4 separate regions of the Homo sapiens genome follow, and regions 2, 3 and 4 are each linked to region 1. Evidence: promoter capture Hi-C in 16 types of primary human blood cells and fetal thymus (Javierre and others, 2016). All regions are on one chromosome and are shown on one strand. The core of a region is centred on a gene start or on the middle of the fragment in contact, and the rest is flanking DNA. Distances in the headings are between cores, read along the strand shown. Region 1 holds the start of SCARB2 (scavenger receptor class B member 2). Region 2 overlaps SEPTIN11 (septin 11). Region 3 overlaps SEPTIN11 (septin 11). Region 4 overlaps SHROOM3 (shroom family member 3).

Region 1 (3,419 bases), core at 447-2,946:
GCTTTACTCTAGTCACCCAAAGCAAGAGTTTACATCCTCAAACACAGCTCACCATGGATTTGGACATGGACAGGAGTGGAGAAAGGATTCAGTTTCTTTTTTCCTTGAACATGATTGCTCAAAGGAAACTGACCCTCGAGACGCTCAGACAGTGGGCCTTGTCTTCCCTTGGCAATGTGAACTTTAAAAATTACATTATGCTTTGCCATGGTGCTTTTTGAAAAACTGCCTTTAACTGCCAGATTTCAGGTACTCACTTAATTACTTTTGGAAACTCAGTTAAAGGAAGATATCCATTGCCACCTGGAATAAAATAGCTTTACTGACTGGAGAGTGCAGTGATTCAAAGTAGACTAGGCCTGGGCTTTTTTATCTGGCCGCAGCAAGTGCAGACCAGTGGGAGAAATGAAGCGTGCAGTTATGGATGCTAACAAGAAAGGCTGCTGCTCCAGTGATTATTTTTCTTTTTTAAGGAAAAAATGATCCCAGTAATTCTCTTTTGTTCCTCTTTTGACACAGCTTGGTGGATGTGGGGGAAAGGGCAGATGAAATGACCAGTGAAATCAAAAGATGAAGTCTTCTTAAAGGACTGGCTCTCCAGCCCAATCATCTAGAGGAAGAGACAAGTTCAGATTCTTGTAGGGTATCTAAATGCATCTGTGCCTGAAAATTATGGCCGTTTGAGAAAAACAAGAATTCATGGTGAGACAAAGCAACACAGACTGTTGGTACAAGATACAAAGCCACTAAGTCAGCGTTCAGCAAAGACTGATGGATGAATTGTCACCCAGCCTAAAGGACTGGCCCAGCTACCAACTGCCCCTGCCCAGCCCAAGAGGGCAAGAACACAATAGACCGCACACCCACGTCTCATCCCCAGGCGCACACCACTTCAAAGGCTACAGCAAGCAGACAACATAACCTGCCTCTTCTGCGGTGTCTTTCATTCAGTTCTGTTTCTTCATGAAGTGGGAAGGAAACAAGTTTGGGCCCACCTGAGATTGGGGTGTAGACGGAAGGAGTGGGGAGAGATGCAAACGACAGAACACAACCGAAGGCCTTTTTAAAAGTCAGGATCCATAGCCTTACTTATCACTGTAAAGGGAACAGAGTCGGCTCCATCCTTCCTCATCCTTCTTTAACCCTCGCCTACCAAGCCCTGGAAGACAGGGACGCAAGAAGAGCTCTAGCGCGGAGGGTCTGCCTGAGTGCTGGTCTTTCCCATACAAGATGTAGCAGCAGGGATGGGAGGGTGAGCTGGACGACTCCACAACACACACACAGCCCGCCCCGCCTCACCTTCTCGATACTCTGGTCTACAGCCTTCTGGAAGACCCGGGCCACCAGCAGCGTGACGCTGGTCACCAGCAGGAGCAGGGACAACGTCCCCGCCGTGTAGAAGCAGCATCGGCCCATTCTGTGCGCCGCTCACGGGCCGGGCCGGGCCGCACCCGCCAGGGATCCAACTGCAAGGAGGGAGGAGCCGCCGCAGAGGCGTCGAAGACCCGGGACCCTTCGGCGCCACGCCCACGCCCTCCCGGCGCACGGTTCGTGCGCGCAGCTCTGGGCTCCGCGGCCTGGCGAGCGCGGCCCCGGGTGCACCGGGCGGATGGGGCCGCGGAGGGACGGGCCCGGACTCGGTTTCGGTTTCCTTCGCCGGGCAGCCGTGGCGCCCGCCTAGCGCAGCTCGGGAGAGTGCAGGGAGCGCGCAGGGACGTGACGTTCGCGGGCCGGGCTCGCCGCAACCCCGCGAGGCAACCGCCGGCGACTGCGCGGGGAGGCGGGCGGGGGCGGAGGCCGCAGTCATGTGCCCTGCGGCGGCGGCAGTGATTCGGCCCGCGCCCTCCCCGGCCGGTCCCCGGTGGCCCTGAGTGGCTGCGGCGCCTGAGCCAGGCCCGGCCTGGCCGCTCCCAGCGCCCTGCACCGCAGGCCCAGCGCTCGCCCCACCGAAATTGCCGAACCTGGTTCACACACTCATTTACTCATTCCGCAGATAGGTCTGAGGGCCTCCCATGGGCCACGCGCTGGGGATTCAAGGTGGCTGGGACATTCCCCTGCTCTAGAGGCGCTCGCAAGTTAGCGGGGACACCGTTACCGCAATTACAACACAATGTAGCAAGTGCTTCTACCAGGTGCCTGCTGAGATCATGCCAGCAAGCATGTTCTGCCTGGATGACCTAGGGCCCCACATTGAACTGGGGCCTGGGGGATGCATAAGTTTGTCACGTAAGGGGCATGTGCAAGAATGGAAGATGTGCAAAAAAGGGAGGAGGAGGCATTTCACGGAGAAGGAAACGGTGAGCAAAGGCATTGGGGGTGAAAGAGCAAAACCTGTAGGAAGCAAGAAGGAAGTTCCTTTTGACTGTAGGCTCAGGTGTTCAGGGGGTGGAGTCGGAGGTGTTGAGGCCCCAAGAGGTCAGACTTTGAAGGGCTCTTGGTATCCTGTTAAAGATGTGGAAGTTGGGAAGGAGCTTAAAGCAGGCATCGCTGGTGTTCTTGCCTGCTTTGCTCACTGTGGTGTCCCAGACACCCAGGACCAAGACCTGCACACAGCCAGGACTCAAGAAGTGTTCGTTAAATGAGTGTTTCTTCTACGCCAGCCCTTTACTAGTTTCTTTGCACAGTTCTACTCATTTAATACCCTTGGCAGTCCTATGAATAGGAGGTTGTGTTTGTCCCAGTCCTCCAGAAACAGTCCCAGATGGGGGTACTATGCAAGAGAGTTTTGAGGGAAAACAGGGAGCTGGACCTGGGATGCAGGTGTGATCCTTGTGAAGGAAAGAGGCAAGCAAGGAAGGAAGGTTGGGTGGAAGGAAGCATTTGATATATATACAGTCCATGTATAAAAAGTTCAGCAAGGCCATTGGGGTGGGGAATCCTTTAGCCAAATGGGCTTGTCCCAGAAGTCTGGCATCTCCCAGAAAGAGGCCCGCCTTAGTATCCCTGCTGTGCTCAGTCATGAGCTGGGAGCAGCCTTAGGAAGCTGGCCTTTGCAGCAACCTAGGGATAAATATCAGGGTATGGATTTCAGCAGAGCTCAGCAGTTGAGGCGGAGCCATTGGTCAGTTATGCTATCTACACTGCAAGATCCAAGAAGTACATTTTCTTGGCAACTATAGTGTATTATCCTCATTTTACACTCAAGAACACTGGGGCTCTGAGTTAAGTAACCTAACAAGCTCAACTGGTTGCTGAGTGGTGGATCCTGCTTGAACCAGGATGTAGGGCTGGCTGTTGGCTTCCAAAACCCTCACTTTTTCTACTCTGCGCATTGCTGCATCCCGATCTGTCACTAATGAGAATCTGAGGACAGCAAATCAGTTAGGAGGCTTTGTTGAGGACTTGGTGAGATAGCATGATGGTTTAAAAATGGTGGCAAATTATTTGTTACTCCTTTCGTTGAGAGGTGGGGTCTATAC
Region 2 (3,419 bases), core at 579-3,078, 760 kb after region 1:
TACTCTTGGTGCCTCTCGTGTGTGTATCTCTAGGACTAAAGAATAACTAATGCCTTGCGGACAACATAGAACGTGGTTGGAAAACTCTTTCTACCATCCCAAAGTGTTTACTATGACTATGTCAGCTTGGGGCATTTTTGGTTAGTTGGTATACTTTCTACAAACATGAAGTACTTCCCGTAGCCATTCCCATAGGTTTTTGTTGCAACTTCAATCCGCTTCTATTATTATTACTTCAAGTTTGAAATATATTTACTTATTCACTTAAAATAACAATAATAAACTTATTACATGTTAATGTAAATAACATTGTTTTATGAAAAATACATTTTTCAAGTCAAAAAATTAGCTGAGATGCATTGTTTCACATTTTGCAAATTTCTTTAATGTCTGACTTAATGGACAGCTGGGTCATCAGATCTGTATTTCATTCACTCTGATGCAGCGTATTCTTTTGGTTGAAGTACCTGAAGATCCAACCTCACATAGGTATGTGGTTGGAAAAGGAGGAACTTATATACCCCTAAAAGGTTCTTGGGGAGGACCCAAGGATTCTCTTACCAAATTTTGAGAACCACTTTCTTTAAAGTAACTCATCTACTCTCTGTATCTTTACCTTCAGTCTTCTCTAAGGAGGAGTTCTGAATTTCCTACAGATAACTTGGAGAAGGAAGTAAGCACTTTTGTTATTTTGAAGTTAGTGACTGTGTCCTGATAGTAGTGTATAAGGTAACACTATAAAGAAAAACAAGAAAAGAGTTTAAGGCAAATTCAGGATAGTGTTTACCTCCAGTACAGAGGGAGAGTGATGCCATCTCACAGGATACCATGGGGCTTCAAAGCTTTTGTTAATGTGTTGTTTTTTGGGCTGGGTGTTGGGTATGTGAGTGTTTGTTCTATTTTCTTTACATGGTAAGGACATGTTGTAAAAGATTATGAGGTATCTACTTATATACTTAAAGAAACCTCTGGTTTTTAGTACTTGAGGAAACAGTAAATACTGTATTTTGTATTCAACATTTTCTGCTTTTTTTTGGCTTGTATCTCTTGCATCTTTCTAGGACCAGTTTTTTAAAATACCCCTTTTGATACCTGGCTCACCCATCAGAATTATTTTTCACTTCCTATACTTGTGTTAACATAAGATCCAAGGCTTGTGATTCCCTAATTGCTGCATGAATACACAGAACTGGAGACTTGCAAGCTCAACTTTGGGACTAGAGTGATGAGATTTCTTGGTGTCTGAATGTTTGACTGTCAGACGACAATGGCTTTCAACCGTTCTAAGCCTTCTATGTCACATTGATCCTGGCCCTCAAAGACTCGTTGGTTGTTCTCCTTTCCACTAGATAATAGGCTGATTTTGTGGTATCTAAACAATCATAAAGTTGCACTTCTTGGAAAGGGTAACCCGCTATTTGACTTATGTTGGGAGCCATCCCACTCTGTAGTATCTTCTTGCTTGGCGTCAGCATTTTAGACTTTTGTTTTGATGACCCAATACCTCTAGTGAGGTTTTATTTGAAGTCTGATACCCACTCTGACATAGGCTCTGGCAGCCTTTAATCTTTTATCCCATTGCAAATGTTAGAATCCCGTAATTTAACAACTAGAGTTTATGTACCTTTCCTCAATGACCCTTCTCCACCCATCTATGTTACAGATGATGATACTGAAAACCAGAGAAGTGGTGGTCCCTGTCACTTATAGCCAACCTAGCTGAAATAGGATTGGAAGCCCTGATGGATGTTTAGCTATGGAATATAATGGTTAAAGTAGTTTTTATGTTTTTTTCCTTATTTGCCTTAAGGTAGATAAGCCCAGCTACACAATATAACATGGAATGAGGTAGAGAAAGAAGAGTATAGTGTTCTAAAGAAAGCATTTTTGGTGGGAGAGAAATTTAAACCATAGTAAAAAGCTCAAGAGAGAGAGAATATGGCAGTAAATAATATGTGACTTTGAATTTTTTAAAGTTTGATTTTAGAATGCTCTCCCCTTTGTTACACTTACAAAAATATTACTGCTTAAGTAGATGATATCTGAACATGGTTTCCAAGGGCCTGAGTAAACTATTTGTAATTACCTCATGGATTGTTAGGAAATCAACAAAACAGGTATTTTATGTTGCTGCCATGGTGGCTAGTGGTTGAACATTTGTTCCAAATTGCAAGTTGCAGAGAAGTGCATGTAAAGGAATGTGAGTGTAATTAAAATGCCTTCAGAAATGGGGGTCTAAGTAAATATTGTATTTATTAAGTGAAACAGCACAAGTGAAATTACCAACTAATGCCTAGCTCAGGGTAGGCTTTAGAATAATGAATATTAGTTTTCCTGAGAGTAAAAGTATTGCTAGTTTTTAAAGACTTATTTTTAAATATAAGCTCAGAAGTGGATAATGGAGTTTCATCAGTAAATCAATATTTTTTTTCATTAGTCTAATTTTAATACCAGGTAATGAGCATTTTTAGCCTTTCTAAAAAGGATGAAGGAGTGAGTCTGGGGATGTCCTCTTATCCCAAAAGGTTCGTCTTTTTTTTTTTTTTTTAGGATGATTAAGTTGATAAAATGGCTTACCAGTTCCTTGCACATACTAGGTAGAGATACAGAAAATATTTCTTCTCTAGCCCATACTACCGAAAGGTTATTTGTTTGTTTGTTTTTGGTAATACAAGCATATGTGTGTTTGCTCCTCAGTAGTCTATAAGAAGCTAAGGAGGAAGTGGTGGGAATATCTGATATGTTAGTCATGTGGTTTTAATCAGTCAGGACTGCTAACTGCATCCTTTCTTGTTTTTCTTTGCAACTTCTATGTAAGCTTTGGTTGATTTTTCTCTGCAACTAATTCTTACAGCTTTGCCAGAGAAAAGTAAGAAAGGAGACTTGATAATCCTTGCTCTTAGAAGAGTGTGAGAGAGAGTAAGAGTGATTGCTGTAGGCTGCCTAACCTTAATCTGTACTCTCTGGGTTAGACTTACTCTGCTTCTTTTCTGTGAGAAATATAAGAAATCCACTCCAGCAGCTGGTGGTGGAGGTCTCTTCTTGGATTCTTCCTTCTCTTGTTTCCTGCTGTTCCCACTTCCCGTAGCTCCCACGTTGCTTTCCTTGTGTGCTCTTACTTGGTGGAATAGGGCCTGTGCACCATGACAACCTACCTCTCCAGCGATTTCTCACCTTGGAAGTTGGTGACTTCTGTAGTGTGATGTGCTTGGGTGGGCCACGCATGTCCCTTGATGGCCAACACACACATCACTCTCTGGTTTATAAAAGGTTGACCAGAGGTAACTTTTCTAGACTCCCAGGCTCTACTAATGTAGTGGCCTGGGCTTTGGAGGAAGCCTGCTTGGCTTTGACTCCTGGCCCTACCACTTACTTGCTGCACAACCCTGAGCAGCTTAATCTCTTAGAGCTTCACTGAC
Region 3 (3,419 bases), core at 679-3,178, 740 kb after region 1:
ACTCAGCAAATATGATTCAGGTGAAGGATCATATCTGTCTGGGGATAATTATAGGCAATTCTTAAAGATGAGGGCAGGGAGTGTGGGAAGTGGAGGAGTACTGCCAATAAAATGTTACTTTCCCTTGTTATAAAATTGCCATTTTTGTGACTTGAAAATGTGGCCCCAGATGGATGGCTGTGGTCGGTGTGCCTGGAGAAACATGAATGGAGCCAAGAAAGGTCCAGGGGAGGGCCACCTAAACAATAAAGGGACTGTCATCTCAGGTCAGTTTTCAAAAATTAGAACTTTTTAGTCAGTGATATAAATTATACATACTGAGGCTCTATAAGCAGTTATTAAGGAATGCAAGAAGTTTCTGAGGTACAATAATCTCTCCTTTTAAAATCTTTCGAAAGTTATAGATTAATTTATCTTTTAAATTATCATCTTTAAAAATGATGTGTCTACATTACAGTGAAAAGGAGACCCAAGGAATTGATTAAAAGAACAAAACTGCCCATAACCCACTATCCTGATATAATAGTTCTTAGGTGTTTAGTCTATTTCACCACTTTTTTGAGCAGACATAACCCATCTTGTATAAACTGCCACCTAGAAACCAAACTGTGTGCCTGAATGAGTCCTGTGTGACCATTTGAATAATACTCTTAAAATGAAGGAAGTGGATGCTTAGTGTTTGGGCATGGGCCATCCTATGTCTGCAAAAGGAACAAATGATTGTGGGACTCTGCTGTTTCCTTGATTTGGATGGCCTACTTGATTGATTGCCAGCAGACCAAGTGTTTATATTCTACCCAATGATGATGTCACACTGATCATGATCATCGGATTTAGACTGTGGCGCAGCCCACAGAGTTTTCTGTGCCTGTGTTTCTCTTTATAGGACTCTAAATTTGGTTGGGGATAGACGCTGCTCTTGGATTTTATCATTTTATTGGGATCCATCTTTCATAGTCTTAGCTAGACCTGTCTCAAATGGGGTTAGCAAAGCTGAACCATTATTTAAATGAAACCCAACACATCTAAAGCTTCTATACTTTTTTCCAAGGAGATCTACTTTACAATATAATTGATAACCTCCCCCGCCCCCTTTTTAAAAATCTGGATTGACAGAAAACTCTCAAATAACAATACTTCCCCTGACCCACTCATGCCTGCTGGCAGCCCATCAATGCAGCAGCTGTTGAACATAAAAACAATACTTGGGCTAAGGTAATAGAGACAGACTTCTAAAAGGAATTTGCTGGGCGATCTAAAATGAAATTCACATTGTTCCAGGCTTGACCTGAGATAGAAATCAGGAGTCTGTTCCCTGATATGACAAAGCCAAGGCACCAGAGCCACCTCTTTTTAGGATCGACGCCAATGAGTGTGAGCACATCGCTCAAGCCAAATGGCACAGGAAGTCCAGTTCTGTGGACACATTCTGCCCACCTGCTGAACTGTGACTGGGTAGGATGGAGTGTGAAACATTGAGAGAGGGGTAGGCTGAGGTGGTGAGGTGGGAAAGAGACCATATTCTAAAAGGACCATTTTTCTGACAAGTGGGAGCTTTGTTTGTTCTTGTCTGTGTGTGATTTCTTTTTTATTTATTTATTTATTTTTTTTTGCATTTTTATTGTACAAAAAGGAAATGAAAATATATATAGCATAACATTAAAATTTACCTACTTGTTTTTGATAATAACATTCCTTTGGGAAGAATTGATTTTTTTTCTCTTATAGAAGTTGAGGCACAATAATGTGGATAGGTTAGAGATTGAAAAACAAAATAATCCTCAACACCCTAACACATCAGTACTCATTCTTGCCTTTCCAACCCACCTGTTTTATCAGACATTTCTTGTGTACCTTCTATATGCAGGTGCTGAAATTATGTTGGTGAGTACTTGACTGCAGTCTTTGCTGCTCTCATGAAATCTCTCTATAGGCTGAGTAAGCAATAGGATTTAGCAAGGAAAGGGAGATGGGGAGGTGGTTGTGGAAGTGTTCCAAGCCCAGGAAACAGCATGTGCCAAGCTCTGGAAGTGAGGGAGAGACTCTTAAGAAATCCAATGTAGCAGGAACGTCAGCCTTAGGGTTGGGTAGGGAGAGTGGACAGACAAGAGGCTGAGGAGGTGGGAAGAGACTCAGTTGTGCAGTGCATTCTTTATAGGCATGTATTTACTGTGTAGCTCTTTAAATGCTTTATATTCCATCCACCCTTTGCCCATAACTTAAGATATCTCAGATCCTTGAAATTGGTTGAAGGAAGACAAAGAAAATCTGCAGACTACTAATTCTTCAGGATTCAATAGGAGAGTTGAGAAACGATCAGGGGAGTTGATTCCTTTCATGCCCAAATTGAACCCTTAAAGAATAGAGGAAATGAAGACTGACAGAGGACACAGAGAAGGAGAGTCCAGTGACAACATATGACAACGACAATGCTAGATCTTCCTCTGCCCAGTTTTATGCATTGAGCCTTTCCTCAGGATTCAGAACTAGAAGTTATTATTTTCTTAGACCTAAGCAACTGAGTCCTGAAGAGTGTGGTGGGGCTGGGGGGGAAGATGGTAGGACTCTTTCCACCTTGGACTTCAAGTGGCAATCAGTGTTCTCCAAAAAGGAAATTAAAAACTCATTGGATTTTATGAAAACAGGAGAAGAGTCTGTTAAAAGCCAGGGTTTACTTAAGACTTCATGCTGTTTTAGTTATCTCATCTCTTTGAGTACTGTCTTCATACCAGTATAAATTTTGTGAATCTCATTAAGGTACTCATTAAACTTACTCTGACCTGCTGTTGGAGGGCAAAAGGCTTGACCAAAAACTTCTGTGCACGGGAAGCTTGTTCAGCATCTTGATTTTCAAATTTATTCAATTCAAATTACTGTCAAGACAATTATCTCACCTTATACTCACAAAATACCTGAGAAGTAATATAGAGAAGGAAAATGAGACAGGAAGAAGTTGTCAGTTAATCTGCTACAGCAAATTTGTGGGAGAGCTAGGCTTTGGAACCAAAGGCTTTTAGACCAACATGCATACAGACCTCCCATCTGATTCAGTCAGTTAAGCTAAATTATGTTGCGGTAACAAATTGGCCCCATGTTTTGGTGGCTTACATAGCAAGGGTTTATTTCTCATGCAGCTGTTCCACCCTCGGAGGTCTGCTGCATACTGCATTGCCTCCAGGACCCAGGCTGAGGGAGTATCCTCTATCTGGGCATTGCCAGCCTGGTGGCAGAGGACAAAGAGACATGCTGAACCCTGGCTTCTCAAGAGCTGGCTTCTCAAGCTCTTAGATGGGTCACTTCCATGCAGATTGTATTGGCCAAAGTAAATGGTCATTCCTAAATTCAAAAGAATGAGGATAGAGAATCCTCCTGTAAAGAGTGGCTCTGAAAGACCCTTGGGCTGGGGAAGTAAATCCCCC
Region 4 (3,419 bases), core at 281-2,780, 530 kb after region 1:
GAGAGGGGATGAGACCCCCAGGGAGCCATCCTCCTGGGGGGCCAGGGCCGGGAAGTCCATGTCGGCCGAGGACCTGCTGGAACGCTCGGACGTCCTTGCGGGCCCTGTCCATGTGAGGTCCAGGTCATCTCCCGCCACCGCAGACAAGCGCCAGGTACGTGCAACCAGCAAGTCCTGGCCTCGAACTGTCCCTTCCTCCCTAGAAGCTTTAGTGGGGCTCCCCAACCCCCCACACTCTCACCCGCTCTCCCAGTTCAGTTTTCCTTGTGATTACAGAAAAGTAGCATTTGTTTTCATGAGTTGAGTTTCTCAAGTGTCCCTTACCTGGTTTCCTTATAAAGATATAGGTATCTAGATTACGTATGTTGTTATACAGATTCTCTATCTATCTGTCTACCTCCATTTTAGGAAGTCACCACCTCTCAATGGAAAAATGCAAGGTTAAGAAAAATTAGGGATTATCTTTTTTGTTTTTTGCTTTTTTTTTTTTAATGGATTAGAGTCTGGGTCTGAGTATTTTAAAAGTTTTAGCTTTGCACCCTTTCTGTTTCTATTGGACTTTGCATCTACAAAATAGCTAGAATGATTGACATTGATAGTCATTGGTTATTGAATTCCTGGCCCTCAGCTAAGTGTGTGGCAGGTCCTGAGCTAAGTGTAATCTACATTTATTATTTCATTTAACCCTCATGATAATCCTGTGCAGCAGAGTATATTATACATGTCAGACCCCTGTCTCTCGGACTCCCACCTCAGCTCTTTCTGTGCATTATCCTGGTGAGGAGAGAAAATAAGAAACTCAAAATCTCACATAAAAGGATTTTCTAATAAAGGCACCAAATGCTGCAAGGATTATAAAGTACTTTCCCCTGAAAATTTTAAGCAGTGCTGGGAATAGAAGCTGAGCATTCTGACTCCTAGGAGCCTGTTAATTTCCCTAATTCTTAGCCTATCCTCAGGCTTCACTTCCACTGTAGACCAGGGGCCTGCCTCATGCTTCCCTTCCCACCAAAGACAATAATAGGAATCACATACCTGTTAGCACAGGGGAGGAAGAACTCCGCTCCACTCTCCCCTCTCAGATTCTGCTGTTTTCCCTTTCAGAGAAGTCAGCCATTCAGCAAGCATCTGTAGAGCATGTGTTGTATGAAAAATGCTGTGTTACAGCATCAAAGGATACACAAAAGGAAAAAATAAGGCTCATGCCTTTCTGGAGTTCACAGTTAAGCAAGGAATACGACCTTATATGTATAAATCTAATATGACTAGTGAATGCTTTGGGAATAGTGATCAATAATATGCTATGGAAAGGAAAGTGATTAATTCTGAGGTGATCTGAAAGTGCTTCTCCTGAAGGGAAATGGGATTTTGGGCCAGGATGTAAAAGATGGGCATGATGACAAGAGATTAGGGGAGAGGGGATGCATTGATGGGAAGAAACCAGTTCAGACAAAGAAAGATTCAGCAGTTCTGGCTGAGAAGTTTGCTGCACTCTATCACACGCATACAGCAACAAATGCTACTTGCTCTTACCAGTCAGATGCTTATAGGGCAGGATTTTACAAGTTTTTGACAAGGATTTAGCTCTTTTTCAAAATTCTCATTAGGGAGGCCTTTCTGCCTCCAAAAACAAAGTCATCATGGAAATCAGTTCCTCTGTATGTGACGATTGATCCATCTCTGGCCTGAAATAATGACTGCAGGAGGCTACCATTTTGAACTACTTGTAGCCTGAGACCTTCTCATATATTTGGCAGGTCTGGCCTCTTCCTCAGCCAGCTTGAAATCCTCTCTGAAACATGCAACCTTCTATTTTCTTCTCCTTTAATTCCTCTTCATTGCAGAACAATAGATACTAGTGATGGAGCTTAAGTGCACATCAGACTCTTGCCTGTTTCCTTCTGAGAGAAAATACCGTCCCCTCCCAGATGTTTTCTGTTTAGAATTGTACAGAAATATTTTCTCCCAGTATAAATCCCCGACAAATATAGAGGCAACTTCCCATAAGCCTTCAGTAGCCTTTTCCTTCCTTCAGAATGAACAGAGCTAATTCCCACTCCCTATCCTACCACTAACACACATTTAAAATCCATATATGTAACACACAATTTCATTTAGCTTGATGGATTTTAGCAACTTAACTGCATAGCAGTCTAGACACCTTCCTTTCTCTCCCCGTGTTTCAAAGAAAATAAAAATGCTTAGGTGAAAACCAAATCATTATTGTTTATTCCCCATTAGATATTGTTATTTTGTCTTAGAGGTTGGTTGGATGGCTATGAATGTTATTTTATCTTTCCCCCCAAATATTTCTTAAGCCTGGTTGATTAAGAAATAAAGCTAAAACATAGGCGTTGGGAGAAGTGAAGAGATTCCTCCAAATCCCAATTAAATACTTTGTATTATTTGGAAAACTTTTTAGAAAGACAAGTGAATACAAAACAGTACTTGGGCACCCTTTTCATAAAGGGAATGCCATATTTAGATGTTATTTAATTTGGGGAATATGCAGGCAGAGAGGGAAATATTTCCAAATGAAATACTTCTTTTGTACTGCTTTGCTCCAACAAATACTGAAATTTCTGAACAATGCATAGTCTCTTATATTGTCACTGTGCCAGGACTGCATTCTTGAGCTTCCTCCCTCTCCTGGTCTCCTGCACAGCAGCCAGACCTTAGCTGACTGGAGAAGCATCTCATGGCAAGGCGGTCTGCTCCTTGCATCCTCTTCATCATCTGCCTTATTTGTAGTTATGATGAGTAAAAAATAAAACAAAGTTACTCTCACCACATAACTATTGTGGTTATTATATACATATTTTTCCTATTGAATAAATTTCAAGAACATTATCAGTAAGCTTTTGGGAAGGTTTGTTAATCAATCATTTTTCTCATCCTTGCTTTAGAGAATTCTGACAAGTTAAGTGAACTTGTAGAGACTGTCTGCCTGAGTTAAAACCACAATGTGGAGTGTGTTTCTGCTGCTGGCTTAGTTGATGCTATCTCCAACAAATGTTGCTTGCTCTTACCAGTCAGATGCTGACAGGGCAGGATTTTACAAGTTTTTGACAAGGATTTAGCTCTTTTTCAAAATTCTCATTAGTGAGGCCTTTCTGCCTCCAAAAACAAAGTCATCATGGAAATCAGTTCCTCTGTATGTGACAATCGATCCATCTCTGGCCTGAAATAATGACTGCAGGAGGCTACCATTTTGAACTACTTGTAGCCTGAGACCTTCTCATGTATTTGGCAGGTCTGGCCTCTCCTCAGCCAGCTTGAAATCCTCTCTGAAACATGCAACCTTCTATTTTCCTCTCCTTTAATTCCTCTTCATTGCAGAACAAATAGATATTAGTGATGGAGCTTAAGTGCACATCAGACTCTTGCCTGTTTCCACTTTCTTTCTGTGAGACCTTGGA

The links. The method cuts DNA at HindIII sites, captures the fragments that hold promoters and counts their contacts. A CHiCAGO score of 5 or more calls a contact.
Region 2: a fragment that was not itself captured here is called in contact with the fragment with the promoter of SCARB2 in region 1 in 2 of 17 cell types (M2 macrophages and M1 macrophages); the score reaches 5.4 in M2 macrophages.
Region 3: a fragment that was not itself captured here is called in contact with the fragment with the promoter of SCARB2 in region 1 in 1 of 17 cell types (M2 macrophages); the score reaches 5.6 in M2 macrophages.
Region 4: a contact is called between a fragment that was not itself captured here and the fragment with the promoter of SCARB2 in region 1, in 1 of 17 cell types (M2 macrophages). The highest score is 5.0, in M2 macrophages.

What each region holds. Positions count from the first base shown.
Region 1 is chr4:76,212,128-76,215,546 of GRCh38, forward strand. It overlaps SCARB2 (scavenger receptor class B member 2), which reads right to left and starts at 1,697. Exons shown (of 12, transcript NM_005506.4): 1 at 1,300-1,697. The coding sequence starts at 1,416. It also overlaps a transcript of FAM47E not described here. RefSeq lists silencers at 1,098-1,502, 1,416-2,035. The HindIII fragment of the contact is 5,631 bases long and covers 1-3,419 here.
Region 2 is chr4:76,975,195-76,978,613 of GRCh38, forward strand. All of the region lies in intron 1 of SEPTIN11 (septin 11), which reads left to right. Among named protein-coding and RNA genes, the nearest start is that of SEPTIN11, 27 kb to the left of the region's middle. The HindIII fragment of the contact is 1,976 bases long and covers 841-2,816 here.
Region 3 is chr4:76,953,381-76,956,799 of GRCh38, forward strand. All of the region lies in intron 1 of SEPTIN11 (septin 11), which reads left to right. Among named protein-coding and RNA genes, the nearest start is that of SEPTIN11, 5.3 kb to the left of the region's middle. The HindIII fragment of the contact is 1,799 bases long and covers 1,030-2,828 here.
Region 4 is chr4:76,741,773-76,745,191 of GRCh38, forward strand. It overlaps SHROOM3 (shroom family member 3), which reads left to right. Exons shown (of 11, transcript NM_020859.4): 5 at 1-154. It overlaps SHROOM3-AS1 (SHROOM3 antisense RNA 1), which reads right to left. Exons shown (of 3, transcript NR_187405.1): 2 at 1,036-1,128. Among named protein-coding and RNA genes, the nearest start is that of SHROOM3-AS1, 59 kb to the right of the region's middle. The HindIII fragment of the contact is 2,652 bases long and covers 205-2,856 here.